2 separate regions of the Homo sapiens genome follow, and region 1 is linked to region 2. Evidence: promoter capture Hi-C in human tissues and cell types (Jung and others, 2019). All regions are on one chromosome and are shown on one strand. Each heading gives the region's core, a stretch centred on a gene start or on the middle of the fragment in contact. The rest is flanking DNA. Distances are from core to core; before and after follow the strand shown.

Region 1 (4,601 bases), core at 658-3,157, 410 kb after region 2:
ACCACACCCAGCTAATTTTTGTATTTTTTTAGTAGGGATGGGGTTTCACCATGTTGGCCAGGCTGGTCTTGAGCTCCTGACCTCAGGTGATCCACTCGCCTCAGCCTCCCAAAGCGTTGGGATTACAGGCGTAGCCACTGCACCTGGCCCCAAATGTTTCCTCTTAAGCAAGACCTCTTCTGTGAAGCCTTCCTCAGCTCTCACAGGTAGGTCCCAAGTGCTCCCGCTGAACATTCTTTAGAAAAAAAAGAAGCACAGCCATTTATAGTCTGTTTGTACAATGTCTCCTGGCCAGACTGTGAACTCTTTTAGGACCACCACAAAGGCATCTCTCTCTCCAATGCCCTGGGCAGTGCCTCACAAAATGCAGGAGTTCCACAGATATTTTCTGAATGTCTCCAGGTTACCAAACCCTTCTAAGTCTTCATTTTCCATCTGTACAATGGGAATAGTATTTTGCCAGAAGGACTGTTGTAGAGTACACTAGAGAATGTTATAAAAGTATCTGGTATAGAAGCAACTCAGTAATTACCAGGTTTACTGGATGGGACTTATTTTTTTCTTTTTCTTCTTCTTTTTTTTTTCTTTTTTTTTGAGACAGAGTTTTGCTCTGTCGCCCAGGCTGGAGTGCAGTGGTGCGATCTCGGGTCACTGCAACCTCTGCCTCCTGGGTTCCAGCAATTCTCCTGCCTCGGCCTCCCAAGTGGCTGGAATTATGGCGCCCCCCTCCCCCCCAACCATGACTGGCTAATTTTTTTTGTATTTTTAATAGAGATGGGGTTTCACTATGTTGGTCAGGCTGGTCCTGAACTCCTGACCTCAGGTGATTCCCCCATCTCAGTATCCCAAAAGGCTGGGATTACAGGCATGAGCCACAGCGCCCGGCTGGGTGGGACATTTTAGAAATCCAAACTAAATTAGGAATATCTCCAAGAAGCACATATCTTAGACCTCTAACAGCTAACACCGGGAGGGGAGGGTGAGGAAAGAAATTTAAGAAATGTAGTCAGTGGGGGCCGGGCACGGTGGATCACGCCTGTAATCCCAGCATTTTGGGAGGCCGAGGCAGGAAGATCATGAGGTCAGGAGATCGAGACCATCCTGGCTAACATGGTGAAACCCCATCTCTACTAAGAAGAAAATACAAAAAATTAGCCGGGCGTGGTGGTGTGTACCTGTAGTCCCAGCTACTCGGGAGGATGAGGCAGGAGAATGACTTGAACCTGGGAGGCGGAGCTTGCAGTGAGCCGAGATCGCACCACTGCACTCCAGCCTGGGCGACAGAGTAAGACTCCGTCTCAAAACAACAAGAAATGTAGTCAGTAGGAAGGATGTCGAGATCTCTTGAAGGAAAACAGCAGCAGATACTTGAGGAAGAACATGCTAAAGGAGCAGAAAGGAAAAGGAAGGATGACCCACACTGACACCCAGAACAGTACAGTTCTCACTCTAGCCAGACTCAGGCTTAAATCCAAAACATGCGTCCTGCCTTTCAGTGCATCCCTAGCACTAAACCAGTTTATGACACTTAAATCTATAAAACTGGGTTAATACCTCTCATAGGGTTATAGTAAAAATTAAATGAAGTAACAATGTCCTCAGGTCTTAGATGGTTTCTTCTATATCTATTCCTCTATCTATAGAAACCAAGTGGTTCAAGCTAACCTATATGCTCTCTTATTATCTGACAATTTATCAGTCATACTAACTTTCTCTGAACTAAAGTTTAAAGCAGATATTAATACAGTGCTCTTAAACATCCTCTTACATTACTTATCATAGAAAAGAGGTACAAAGTAGGCGTGTCTCAGCAGACAAAAAAGAAGTTTAAATGATATTGATACCTACAAGGCAGTACACTTCAGGACTGTACATTTCTAACTGTCGTCTACACAGTCTCAAACACCTAATGGACTCCTCAGTAGTTTTCTGATGATTATTACAAACACTCCCTAAACAATAAAGTGGAAAATAAATAGCAAGAAAAAATACATAAAAACTGAAAACTTCAGGAACAAAGCATAAAAATTAATACCCACTCTTCTGGATTAATAAATAGTATTAACATCATTAAAGAACCTTTGGAAAAGGCTCATATCTTTGAGATGTCAAAATGCGATGTCATATCATCAAATTATTCCAGAACTGCATTAGAAAAAGTTCCACCTTTAGCATGCTTTAGACCCAATTGGTGAAAAAATTTATGAAGTTATATTTTTATCAATATAAAAGATTCAAGTGTGTACACAGTTTTTGGACCAATAATTCACTAAACTTATTAAAATTAATTTGCTTGAAGCCAACTTTCATTTTTACACAAGCTAACTGCAAGCATTTAACAAAGTGCAGTGAAATAAATGCATTGTTTTCCTTTTGTGTTCAACCTACAGAGGAAAGGTTTTTTAACAGTTATTATCAAGCTTAATCTAAATTAGAGAGTAATTATTCAAGACTGACTTTGACGTTAGGTACTTTAAGAATTTGGCCGGGCACAGTGGCTCACGCCTTGTAATCCCAACACTTTCCAAGGCTGAAGTGGGGGGATCACCTGAGGCCAGGAGTTCAAGACCAGCCTGGCCAACATGGCGAAATCCTGTCTCCAATAAAAATACAAAAAATTAGCCCAGCATGGTGGCAGGTGCCTGTAATCCCCGCTACTCAGGAGGCTGAGACAGGAGAATCGCTTGAACTCTGGGGGCAGAGGCTGTAGTGAGCCGAGATCACACCATTGCACTCCAGCCTGGGCAACAACAGCGAAACTCCATCTCAAAAAAAAAAAAAAAAAATTTGACCCCAATCCACTTTTTAGAACCACTCTCAGCTTAAGTGTTTTAAATGAAACAAAGAATTGTGTAATTTAGTAGGAAAAGAATTGAATAGGAAAATGAGAAGATGCGTGACCCATTTCCAGTTCTGTATTAAGATGCTGAGCTACTAAGAAAAAAACCATTTCGGCCGGGCGCAGTGGCTCACACCTGTAACCCCAGTACTTTGGGAGGCCAAGACACGCAGATCATCTGAGGTCAGTAGTTCGAGACCAGCCTAACCAACATGGCAAAACCCCATCTCTACTAAAAATACAAAAATCGGCAGGGGGCGGTGGCGCACACCTGTAGTCCCAGCCACTCAGGAGGCTGGGGCAGCAGAATCACTTGAACCCAGGAGACAGAGACTGCAGAGAGCAGAGATAGCGCCACTGCACTCCAGCATGGACGACAGCGTGACTCCATCTCAATAAAAAAAAAAAAAAAAGCCATTTCACCACTCATACTCTTGTTTCCTCAATATAAGGTCTTACTGAACTCTAATCACTAAGGTTCTTTTTTTTCCCTTTTTCCGGGACGGAGTGTTGCTCTGTCACCCAGGCTGGAGTGCAGTGGCATGATCTCGGCTCACTGCAACCTCCGTCTCCCGGATTCAAGCAATTCTCCTGCCTCAGCCTCCCGAGTAGTTGGGATTACAGGCGCGCACCACCACACCCAGCTAATTTTTTTGTATTTTTAGTAGAGACGGGGTTTCACCATATTAGTCAGGCTGGTCTCGAACTCCTGACCTCATGATCCGCCCGCCTCGGCCTCCCAAAGTGCTGGGATTACAGGCATGAGCCACTACGGCTGGCAAACGTTTAAGATTCTTTAAAGTGCACAACTTCCACAGTAACATCTTAGTTTTCCTAACATGTTATCCTAGTAATTCTAATATATCCATGAGCCATGGTATGGCATTAATCAAAGAATAAAGAGTCCGGGCACGGTGGCTCACCCTATAATCCCAGTACTTTGGGAGGCCAAGGCAGGAGGACTGCTTGAGCCGAGGAGTTCAAGACCAACATGGGCAACATAGTGAGACTTCATCTCTACAAAAAATTTAAAAATTAGCCCAGTGTGGTGGATTGTGCCTGTAGTCCTAGCTATTCAAAAGGCTGAGGTCGGAGGATCACTTAAGCCCAGGAGTTCAAGGCTGCGGTGAGCCATGATCAGACTACTATACTTCAGCCTGGGCAACAGAGTAAGACCTCGTCTCAAAAAAAAAGAATAAAGGGCTGAGCATGGTGGCTCACGCCTGTAATACCAGCACTTTGGGAGGCTGAGGCAGGCCGATCACCTGAGGTCAGGAGCTCAAGACCAGCCTGGCCAACATGGTGAGACACCATCACTACTAACAATACAAAAATTGGCTGGGCGTGGTGGCGCGTGCCTTTAGCCCCATCTACTCGGGAGGCTAAGGCAGAAGAATTGCTTGAACCCGAGAGGCGGAGGTTGCAGTGAGCCAAGATTGCGCCACTGCACTCCAGCCTGGGCGACAGAGTAAGACTCTGTGAGGCTATCAGCCTTTGAATCCTCTATTCTAACAGCTATCCTGAGATATTAAAAGGTAATCTTGACCTTAATCACAGGAAAACAAACAGTAATTTTTAAGAAAATCTATAGGGATGCAAAGCTAAAACATAAGAAGAAATAAAAACATCCTAGCAGTTGATAGCAAATCATTTTTTGTTTTAGGGCTACCTCATGTTTGAAGTTGAAATAAAAGAGCATTTCATTGATAACATCATCTGAATGATTTCCTACCAATGTATTGCCTTTGACTTAAACCACTCT
Region 2 (4,922 bases), core at 469-2,968:
CTCCATGTTGGTCAGGCTGGTCTCGAACTCCTGTTCTCAGGTGATCTGCCTGCCTGGGTCTCCCAAAGTGCTGGGATTACAGGCAAGAGCCACTGCCCCCGGCCTTATTTATATTTTTCAAATGACTAGAAGTATACATACCAAACTATTAAAGAGTGACTAATTTGGGGGAGTGGGATGAAGACAAATATTGAAAAAGGTGCCTGTAATTTTTATTTTGTTCATTTTTCTGTACTGAAAAAAAAATTAGCCATGTGTACTTATTCCTTTTAAGACAAAAGAAAAGCCTAATAAAATAGTAGTTCCTGAGACTAACTGGTTAATGAGGCTACCTCCATGCCACTGTTCCCCAAAACACCTCACCATATTCCATGAGCCAAAGGGAATTCATTTGGTGAGTTTCTTGGACCTTGGGAACTGCTGCCTGATGTTTTGCCTAGTTTCTGCTACTAAATTAACCTTAGCCAGTTGTAGATTATCATGGCTGCTGACTCATGAGCTGATGGTCACAGAGCTATTTATGTTTTTAAAAGTACAATGTTTGATAGAGATGAAAGGTAATAGCAGTCTTACCCAACTACTAAATGATGAGGCAAGGTGCTTTAACATTAAGAGTTTCTTTGAACTCCCCAACACAAATGATTCACACGTTTCTTATCCTGTTCATCTTTCCAGAAGAAAGATTATAAAGTACTACAGCGTGACAAAAAAGCCCATCTTGTAGTGAGCCGAGATCGCGCCACTGCACTCCAGCCTGGGCGACAGAGCGAGACTCCGTCTCAAAACAAAAAAACAAAACAAAACAAGACAAAACAAAAAAAGCCCATCTTGAATCTAGTGGTTACTTCCACCGTGAAGAGGCCAGGTTCCCTAGTATTTAAGAGACCTTTTTTTAGGCCGGGCGCGGTGGCTCACGTCTGTAATCCCAGCACTTTGGGAGGCCGAGGTGGGCGGATCACGAGGTCAGGAGATCGAGACCATCCTGGCTAACACGGTGAAACCCCGTCTCTGTTAAAAATACAAAAAAAAGTGGCTGGGCGTGGTGGCGGGCGCCTGTAGTCCCAGCTACTAGGGAGTATGAGGCAGGAGAATGGCATGAACCCAGGAGGCGGAGCTTGCAGTGAGTGGAGATCGTGTCACTGCACTCCAGCCTGGGCGACCAAGTGATACTTCGCCTGTGTTTAGAGTCCGTTTCTCCACGACTGTGGACCTCCATGGGACAGGGAAATATGGAAAACTGAGGAACCACGGGAATACAGCTTTGAAGGTCTCACTGACCTGCTTTATAGTTTGCTTTCTAAAAAATAATTTTCCCTCCTTTAAAAAAAAATAAAAATTAAGGCACAATGTGAGAGGTTGGCAAGTTCCATTTTTAAATGACTCTCCAAAAAAGTATCAGAAAATGATGAGCTGTGGTTACTGATGTAGCTCCACAGTTATGAGGCAAAACTATGGTTATATCCCTGGTTTCTGCAAAAAGGAAGAGATTAAGCTAAAATGTTAAAATGCTGTGACCACGACCTTTTTTCAAGTTCTGATCATGCCTCCCTGTGAAGTCCTTCCTGCACTTAGAAGCTGAGCAGGTTTCTGTTTCACTGTACTCACTCTGAATTCTTTTCGGGGCACCTTCCTAGTCCTCAGGAATCAGCACAAAAGAGGAAACTCCAAATGTTCACGTTCAACGGCTTCCGTTCCCTGGAGGGACCATTGCTGCTTCTGCCACACTTCCCAGAATCCTCCTAGAGATGCACTCTGGGAATTGTAGTTCAGTTCCCAGGCATGCTGCTGTGTTCTCCAGCTGCAAGTTAACCATGATTGTCAAAAGCATGAACATCTAAGATCTTATTACCAAGAGAACTACTGTATCCTTGGAGAAAGTAGGTTAGTATTAGATCCATTTTTTAATTAAAAAAAGATAAAGTCATTAAGTCCACCCTCATACACAGAAGGCATATATTATGAGGCTGGGGAGAGGATGAAGCAGGGGTGGGAATCAAATACCTTTTAACCTTAGTATATCTCTAGTTCTCTCTCTGCACACTTTAGAACTAGCTCTAAAATTTCATGAAGTTCTTCCAATTTAAAAGGATGGGACTCTGTATAGGTATGTATAGATATGTTTGAACTTATGGTAGGATTCATTTCTTGATCAGAGGAAGCGCATTCCATTTGACTGGAAGTAGTCTCCTAGAAGTGTGTCCGGAGTTGGTTCCTTCCAGTGGGTTCTTGGTCTTGCTGACTTCAAGAATGAAGCCGTGGAGCTTTCGGTGAGTGTTATAGCTCTTAAAGGTGGCACGAACCCAAAGAGTGAGCAGCAGCAAGATTTATTGTGAAGAGCGAGAGAACAAAGCTTCCACAGCGTGGAAGGGGACCCGAGTAGGTTGCCGCTGCTGTTGGGGGTGCCAGCTTTTATTCCCTTATTTGTCCCTGCCCACATCCTGCTGAATGGTCCATTTTACAGAGCACTGATTGGTCCATTTTATGGAGTGCTGATTGGTCCATTTGACAGAGTGCTGATTTGTGCATTTACAATCCTTTAGCTAGACACAGAGTGCTGATTGGTGCGTTTTTACAGAGTGCTGATTGGTGCGTTTACAATCCTTTAGCTAGACACAGTGCTGATTGGTGCATTTACAATCCTTTAGCTAGACACAGAGTGCTGATTGGTGTGTTTACAATCCTTTAGCTAGACACAGAGCACTGATTGGTGCATTTTTACAGAGTGCTGATTGGTGTGTTTACAATCCTTTAGCTGGAAACAGAGTGCTGATTGGTGCGTTTACAATCCTTTACCTAGACACAGAGCGCTGATTGGTGCATTTTTACAGAGTGCTGATTGGTGTGTTTACAATCCTTTAGCTGGACACAGAGTGCTGATTGGTGCATTTTTACAGTGTGCTGATTGGTGCATTTACAATTCTCTAACTAGACAGAAAAGTTCACCAAGTCCCCACTCCACCCAGGAAGTCCAGCTGGCTTCACCTCTCAGCAGAGCTACTTTGGTGCTGCTCTCTTCTCGTTTTACTACTGAAGTTACTTGCCTATGAGAGAAGACACTTTTTTTTTTTTTGAGATGGAGTTGCTCTGTCGCTCAGGTTGGAGAGCAGTGGTACGTACAATCTTGGCTTACTGAAACCTCCTCCTCCGGAGTCAAGTGATTCTCCTGCTTCAGCCTCCCGAGCAGCTGGGATAACAGGTGCACACCACCATGCCTGGCTAATTTTTGTATTTTTAGTAAAGCCAGGGTTTCGCCATGTTGACCAGGCTGTCTTAAACTTCTGACCTCAAGTGATCCACTCGCCTCAGCCTTCCAAAGTGCTGGGATTACAGGCGTGAGCCACCGCACCCAGCCAAGAGAAGAAGTCCACTCATTCAACATGTATTTAATGAGTACCCAATGTGCCTAGGACTGTTATAGGGATAGGATACAGCAGGGAACAAAACATGAAAATCTCTGTCCTCATGTAACTTACATTCTAGAAGGGGAAACAAACGAGTAAATATACAATGTGTCGTGGTTATAAAGCTTAAGAAGAAAAATAAAGCAAGATAAGTAGAGGGATTATTTTGCTATTTTATATAGGATGGTCAGCCTCATTGTTAAGATAATATTTAAACAAAGACCCTGAAGAAGGTGATGAAGAAACCAAATTTATATCTATGGAAAGAGATTTGTAGACAGAGCAAAATAAGCATATGCAAAGGCCCTGGGGTGGGAGTGTGCCGTTTGAGGAAAGGCTAGGAAAGAGCATGGTGATCAGAGATGAGATCAGAGTAGGCCGGGCATGGTGGCTCATGCCTGTAATCCCAGCACTTTGGGAGCCCGAGGTGGGCACATCATTTGAGGTCAGGAGTTTTAGACCAGCCTGGCCAACATGGTGAAACCCTACTAAAAATACAAAATTAAGCCAGGTCTGGTGTCACATACCTGTAGTCCCAGCTACTTGGGAGGCTAAGGCACAAGAATCGCTTGAACCCGAGAGGCAGAGGTTGCAGTGAGCTGAGATTGCGCCACTGCACTCCAGCCTGGGTGACAGAGCGAGACATTGTCTGAAAAAAAAAAAAAAAAAATCAGATTGGTTCATTATCCTTAAGGAAGACACAGAAAATTGTAGGGAAACAAGATATAAAGTCAATGGATTCTAAGGATGCTTAGGGGGAAATTGGGGCTCTAATAATTTAAAAAGTCAAAATAACTTTTTGTAGTAATTGTTAAGTGCTATAATAATAAAAATAGCTCAGACTGAGCATTTGCTGTGTTCCAGGCACTATGCTAAGTGTCCCACATATTTGTCATTAATCCTCACATCCTATGAAATCTGTATTAAAATTTGTACTTTAGGCTACGTGTGGTGGCACACGCCTGTAATCCCAGCACTTTGGGGACTGAGGTGGGAAGATTGCTTGAGTTCAGGAGTTCAAGAAACCAGCCTGAGCAACATGACAAAACACCATCTCTACAAAAAATACGAAAATTAGCTGGGCATGGTGGCATGCACCTGCGGTCCCAGCTACTCAGGAGGCTGAGATAGGAGGACTGCTTGAGCCCAGGAGTGAGCCGAGATCATGATGCTGCACTCCATCCAGCTTGGTGACAGAGACACCCTGTCTAAAAAAAAAAAAATTGCACGTTACAGATGAGAAAACATAGGCTTAGAAAAATTAAGTAGGGGAGGCGCGGTGGCTCACACCTGTAATCCCAGCACTTTGGGAGGCCAAGGCGGGTGGATCACAAGGTCAGGAGTTTGAGACCAGCCTGGCCAATATCGTGAAACCCCGTCTCTACTAAAAATACAAAAATGAGCCAAGTGTGGTGGCGTGCTCTTGTAGCCCCAGCTACTCGGGAGGCTGAGACAAGAGAATCGCTTGAACCCAGGAGGTGGAGGTTGCAGTGAGCCAAGATTGAGCGACTACATTCCAGC

Evidence for each region. The method cuts DNA at HindIII sites, captures the fragments that hold promoters and counts their contacts. A contact is called where the count stands out against the background at its distance.
Region 1: a contact is called between a fragment that was not itself captured here and the fragment with the promoter of NUDT13 in region 2, in 1 of the 25 tissues and cell types used here (dorsolateral prefrontal cortex).

Annotation. Positions count from the first base shown.
Region 1 is chr10:72,698,244-72,702,844 of GRCh38, reverse strand. The region is part of intron 1 of MCU (mitochondrial calcium uniporter); the gene reads right to left. Among named protein-coding and RNA genes, the nearest start is that of MCU, 8.4 kb to the right of the region's middle. The HindIII fragment of the contact is 4,583 bases long and covers 1-4,198 here.
Region 2 is chr10:73,107,251-73,112,172 of GRCh38, reverse strand. NUDT13 (nudix hydrolase 13) reads right to left here and starts at 1,718. Exons shown (of 9, transcript NM_015901.6): 1 at 1,606-1,718. RefSeq lists a silencer at 4,746-4,922. The HindIII fragment of the contact is 13,958 bases long and covers 1-2,938 here.